Regions from separate parts of the Homo sapiens genome. Here region 1 is linked to region 2. Evidence: promoter capture Hi-C in 16 types of primary human blood cells and fetal thymus (Javierre and others, 2016). All regions are on one chromosome and are shown on one strand. Each heading gives the region's core, a stretch centred on a gene start or on the middle of the fragment in contact. The rest is flanking DNA. Distances are from core to core; before and after follow the strand shown. Region 1 overlaps FYCO1 (FYVE and coiled-coil domain autophagy adaptor 1). Region 2 holds the start of CCR1 (C-C motif chemokine receptor 1).

What was found. The method cuts DNA at HindIII sites, captures the fragments that hold promoters and counts their contacts. A CHiCAGO score of 5 or more calls a contact.
Region 1: a fragment that was not itself captured here is called in contact with the fragment with the promoter of CCR1 in region 2 in 1 of 17 cell types (neutrophils); the score reaches 7.0 in neutrophils.

Annotation. Positions count from the first base shown.
Region 1 is chr3:45,927,606-45,930,791 of GRCh38, forward strand. The region is part of intron 16 of FYCO1 (FYVE and coiled-coil domain autophagy adaptor 1); the gene reads right to left. Among named protein-coding and RNA genes, the nearest start is that of CXCR6, 14 kb to the right of the region's middle. The HindIII fragment of the contact is 4,833 bases long and covers 1-3,186 here.
Region 2 is chr3:46,206,969-46,209,885 of GRCh38, forward strand. It overlaps CCR1 (C-C motif chemokine receptor 1), which reads right to left and starts at 1,345. Exons shown (of 2, transcript NM_001295.3): 1 at 1,314-1,345. The HindIII fragment of the contact is 1,401 bases long and covers 1,072-2,472 here.

The DNA.
Region 1 (3,186 bases), core at 625-3,124, 280 kb before region 2:
ACGTAGGCTCTGTGCTGCCTCTTCTGCACACGGCGTCTCATTTACTTCCATTAATATTCTATCACATTCTAGTTCCACCAGGGACTAAGGATCCCGGGAGAGTGAGGGGTTGGTTCTGTTTCTGTGATCCACAACCTAACAACTCTGGCCTGGTCTCAGACACTGCAGCAGGGGTGTATGGGAAGGAGCTGCTGGAGGGGAAGGCTTGCTGTTTGCATGGGGACCTTGGTGTGCCCACCCTGCACACCCTCGCACTCACTACCTTGATTACAAGCAACATCAAGAGCTCCTTAAGGCAGGTCCCCTGAAGAGGGCATGTTTAACATAGATTAATGTGCGTTCTTGAAAATGATACTCTTCATTTCTTTAAAACATCTTACTCTGTAGCCTTTTCATTCATTCCAGCTGTTTTTCATTCATTCCATTCACATGAAACATCTAGAATCAGCATATCCACAAAATAGATTAGTGGTCACTGGGGGCAGAGGTTGGGGAGTGACTGCTAATGGGCACAGAATTTCTTTTTTGGAGTGATGGAAAGAATCTAAAATTAGACAGTGGTAATGGTGGTACAACTCTGTGAATATACTAAAAACCATTAAACTGTACATTCCAAGTGCGTGAGTTATATCTCAATAAAGCTGTTTTAAAAAACAAAGTCAAGGGTCCTTGCTGTCAGCTGATTCCTCCTCTGACTCCCTCTGAAGCCCACCCCAACAGGCCATCGACCTCTGGCCAAAGACGGATCCTCTGCCCAGAGAGAGGACAGAGTCTGGATCCAATTCTCCACTTTGTCCCTGGGCCTCAGGCCAGCGGTGTGTACACTGGTAACCTGGTTCATAATTTCTTTCATCAAGTGCCTCCCCTAGATTCACACTCTCCAATCTCAGTGTCGAGTCTATGACTATAATGGAGGAAGTGGGTCTGGAGAGAGGGTGGCACAGGGTGGAGAGTGTCTGACAGGTGCCCCTAGAAACGGGGCTGGCCTTCTGCTGTGCTATTCCATCCACCTGGATGCTTCTCCTCAAGCCCACAGGTCCCTCGCCTCACCTCACAATGCTGCTTCTGGTTTCCTCCACTGTGGTCTTCATCATCGCCCAGGGGTCTCCTTTCCTCATCTCTGTTCCCCAGGCTGGGCTAGGCATCCTTCCCAGGGGTACCCACAGTGCCCACCCACCCCTGTCATGAAACCACCTGGAATCACAAATGTCTATTTATTAGAGTCTCTCTCTGATTACACAGTGAGCTCCTCAACGGGAGATCCCATGTTATCCCTTCATCTTTCTATCCCCCGTGGGCCCTACAGAGTCCAGTATACAGGACACACTCAATAAATGGTTGCAAATACACAGCATAATTCCTTGTGTCTATACCTCCGTAATCATGAAGTCTGAGTGCTGCAATTTGCACTGCATCTGTCATTTCCTCTAAGGCCCAGGCTGGTCAGGAGTGCACTCGGGGAGTCCCCGGGATAGATATTGAGGGCACATGTCTGGAAACAGGCTACCCTGGCCATGGTCTCTTTGGGGGACCTCAGGCAGAGATAACAGCCACCCCCATCTGTGGTTGGTGACAGTGGCCTGTGAAGGCAGAGGAGCACCTAAGCATCCTGTACACGGGCCCCTTCTGCCCCCTGGTGTCACTGTGGGGAAAGGCAGTGGGGCCCCCTGGAAGCTAGAGGAGGAAGGCTCAGTAGGTCCCCAAGTTCCTGATTCCTGGTAGAGCCACACAGGAACCCCAGGCTGCTGAGGACTCGGTGGGTAGGGACTGAGCAAGGGGAGAGGCCCACAGCCCAGCCACATATGGGCAGGCAAAACAGCAAAGGCCTGGATCCCTGATTTCGTCCCTTCCCTCCCTGCCACAAACACTCACGGTGTCTGATCTGGGTGGATTCAGGGCTGGGGGCCTGGTGGGTCTGGGGAACGTGATGGTGAGTGGCAAGGGCAGCTCTTGGCAGTGCTGCCGTTTGTTAGTGTGGAGCTGACAGGCATGTTGGCCGCACCAGGACCTCCTGGGTGGGGGCTCAGAACTGCTCAAGAAGGAAGGGCTCCAGAGGTAGGTAGGAGGAGCTGGCTACAAGCCCCAAAAGAATAAGATGGGCAGAGCGGTTTTAAATAAGACAGAATATGAGATTCCAATAAACAAGGCCAACCCAAGGGAGTAGAGTTACATTTTGAGAGTGAGTTTGAAAAGCAGAGAAATGACAAAAGCGATCCCTGCATTGAGCAGATTCCAACAGGGCAGGATGGCAGGAGAGCAAACCCAAACGGGTACGTGTTCCTCTATGGGATGCCAGCGCCACAGCAGGAACTGCTGTGTGGCCCAATGTGTCTCCTAGCTGGGCTCTCCTGCTCTGGGCCCTCCTCATCCCTCAGCCTCAAGCCCCTCGAGGGCACCCAGTGGACCAAACACACAAGGGACTATTAGATGTTTCTGCAAAGACTTCACAGAACTCTTGTTTCACATGACTTCAGCTAGCTTTTCCCTATCTTGATCCTTGCAATTCTTGCAAAATGGAGATTTCTGCAGTCATATTCCCAGACTAGGATCCATTTTCAGCTCCAGTCCAGCAGGCCCAACGGCTTTTACCATTTCTTTCACTCAGAATGATTCAAATGGAACTTGTGTTTCCATGCAAACCATCTCTCCCTCCCATATCCCTCTACACCCTTTCTCTGCAGAGATGCAGGCATCAAATTCAGACCTCAGGCATGGGTCTCCCTTCTCCTTGCCCCATACTGAATCAGCCACCCATGGAGCCCTGCCCAACCTCTGTCCCTGTGGTCTGGATTCCACCTCATCCTTTCCACTTTGGCTTCAACCCCCTGATCTACACCAGTGGTTCTCAACCTTGGCTGCTCATTGGAATCACTTGGAGATGTCTGGATCCCACCCCTAGAGACTCTAATTTGCAGCCAAGGTTGAGAACAACAGTCCGGGCACTGTCAACATTCCATGCCTAGAATGTCTTAGGAATTTATAAACTGGTACCTGCCACCAAGATTTCAAGCTCGACCACCCAAGTGACATTGGGGTTGTCTCTACTGACACCTTTCCGGGTTGAGATGCACCCTAAGCTAAAAACTAGAGGAAGAGAGGTCACCACCTCCCAAGGTGATCCATTCCTGCTTTGCACAGCTCTATTAGAAAATGATCCTTAAATTGAGTCATACGTCTGTATTCCTC
Region 2 (2,917 bases), core at 95-2,594:
GGCCTATGGTGCGCTGGCTGGCTTATACTGGTTTATAAATGCCAATTGCGTGCATCTCTTCCCCACTCCACATTCAGCATGTTGGTAGCTTGAAACTGACCACAGTGGGGGCATTTATACCATGAAAATCAACAAATGTTATAAAGCAGGGATCTTTTCTTCAGAAGAGTCAGTTGTTGAACATTTACCAGCACATCACTGCCCAGGCCCCACATTCTGAACAGTCCAGCACTGTCCCACTGCTCGGTGCGGGAACTAAAGGATCAGTGAGTGGCACATAGCCTGGTGCCAGGTTGTGCAAACTTTTGGGAGTTTCCATCTCTTCTTTGAAATCTGGGACCCACCAAGACCACCTATGAAGTAGATACCTATACGGAGCCACCATGCCCCTCTATCTTCAGAACAAAATCCTGACCTGTGTCTTTGTTAGTAGAGCAGAACAGATGCCCCCCAAGATCACCTGGCCAGCTCCTTGCCTTTGGGTGAGTGAAAGCCTACCTCTTCCAAAGATAGCAGTGCCAATTTTGAGGATCCTTGGTTCTAGTCTTCTTAAGAGATAGGTTCAGTATCAAATCATCCTTGCATCTGCCAAGATTTTTCTAGCTAATATTTCCCTCTTGCTATAATTTCTTCATACACCATGTTTGGTTTTCCTTTACATGGGGGAATTTGGCAAGCAATTTTTTTTTTTTTTTCAGACAGACTCTTGCTCTGTCGCCAGGCTGGAGTGTAGTGGTGCAATCTCAGCTCACTGCAACCTCCACCTCCCGGATTCGAGTGATTCTCCTGCCTCAGCCTCTTGAGTAGCTGGGACTACAGGCATGCGCCACCATGCCCGGCTAATTTTTATTTTTAGTAGAGACAGGGTTTCACCATATGGCCAGGATTGTCTCCATCTCTTGACCTCATGATCCACCTGCCTCGGTCTCCCAAAGTGCTGGGATTACAGCCGTGAGCCACTGCGCCCCGCCAAGTAATTTCTTATTGAATAGGTTTCCACAGAAAACACCTTTTGTCCCTTAGTACTGACTGACTTTCTTAATCAGTAACCAAAAGCCAATCCTTCAAGTAAGCTTCCTTTTTAGCAAAAAAGCCTATATTTCATCTGAGCACCCAGCTTTATAAATCCACCATTCTCAGTATTGCTACAGTATTAATTGCCTTGGAGATGCATCCATGGGCTACTTAGACATTTGCCCAGCCTACTCAAAGAATTCCCCCTACCTTTGAGGAGCCCCTAGCTGCATGCATGTCTTTGAACAACACTGCCCTCCACAGTAACAGATAAGACAGAAAAGACAAGTGACACTTACTCTGGTTCCAAGGGACTTTGTCCGTGAAGTCTTTGTTTCTGGGGCTTTCTGGGTTTTTATGAATTCAAGTTTCAAGATCCTGACCAAGTAGGAAGTACTCAGCTTCCTGTGTGATGATGGAGAATTGGCTCCAGTTTCACAGTCTTTCAAAATGACAAGAAAGGGACAAAGTTCTTCTTTTTGTGTGGTTTGGTGCTCATGAATGGCCACAACGCCCACCAGTGGCCACTTCCTGGAAGCCAAGTTAACTGCGAGGATTTTCTCTGCTCACTCTGAGCCTCTTGAGTCTTGGCCCTGGGAGCTCAGCCTTAAGGGAATTGGGGGCAGGTGAAGCTGAGTTGGGTGAGGTGGGTGGCAGTGAGATGTTCCCAGAATGTTTGGAGCAATTGAAGTGTGGGATGTGTGTATGTGGGATGGGGGCAGGGCATAGAGCTCTTGTGGTCAGCGGCAGACTTCTTTTTTTTCTTCTTCTTAAAGATTGTGAATGGAAGGATTTAAACTGGAACCCTGAGTCCTGTTCCTCAAAACTAACTGACATGGGTGCTCACAGAGGCAGCAGCTTCTCTTTGGCACCCTATGCCCCTCGGCTTCTGGGAGCTCATTGTCCCTCTGCTCTCTGCTCCCCAAGTCCCTCCCCACCAAACCTCAGAGAGTGGCTTTGCCCCAGGAACCTCCAGCATGAAGGGAATATAGGTCTGTTGGTTACATTTTGACCTTCCCTTTCTGATGCCCCATTCCTGTTTTACGTGATGGTCAAACATGGGCCAAGTTCAAATCCCAGCTCTCCACCTGTGACATGGGCAGATCACTCACCTTTCTAAGTCTTGGTTCCTACTCTGCTAAATGGGAGTATTGAATGCTTACCTCAGAGGAGAAGCACGAAGTCAACTTGTACATGAAAAATGTCAGAGTGCCTGGCACAGTGAAAAATGTCTGACAAATGATGAGTACTGTGACTCTCCTCACAACTGCCAACACCTACTCTGCCTCTGCCCTTGTGTCTTCTATAAAGTGGGGACACCCCTAACCTTCCTCACGGCATTGCTACAAAGCACTGTTTCAGAAATCATCAGTGTGAATGTGCTTTGAAAAGATCACTTGTCTCTTCATGGTTCAGTTTTCTTATCTGTAAAATGAAGAATTCAGACAAGATGGCCTAAGCTTGACATCTGATCATCACTCAGCTTCACCCCAAAGAAATAAATGGGGGTCTGCATGTGCCTGGCTATTTGCAGTACTTTGCTGGTGGATCAGTTTCCAAAGAGAACAGAGGCTTGTGAGGCCTGCCTTTTCCTTGATCCTGTCTAAAGTAAGGGACATGGTCAGTACCTCATCCTTGACCAGGCTTCCAGCTCTGCTCTAGGTTTCATTCCACAGAGGGGATGTACCAGGCAAATCTGCTTGTTCATTGAACAAATATTTATTCAGTACTCACAATGTGCCGGACATTGTGTTAGGTGCTTGGGATATAGTGGTGAAGAAAGAGGCTGGATCCATTCTTTGAGAGCTTATAGCTTAGGAAGGATCACAAACAATTAACCAAGTTACCACAATGAGGAACAGCTTTTGTAGTGGCCTGGGAAATACCCTGGGCTAAGGAAGGG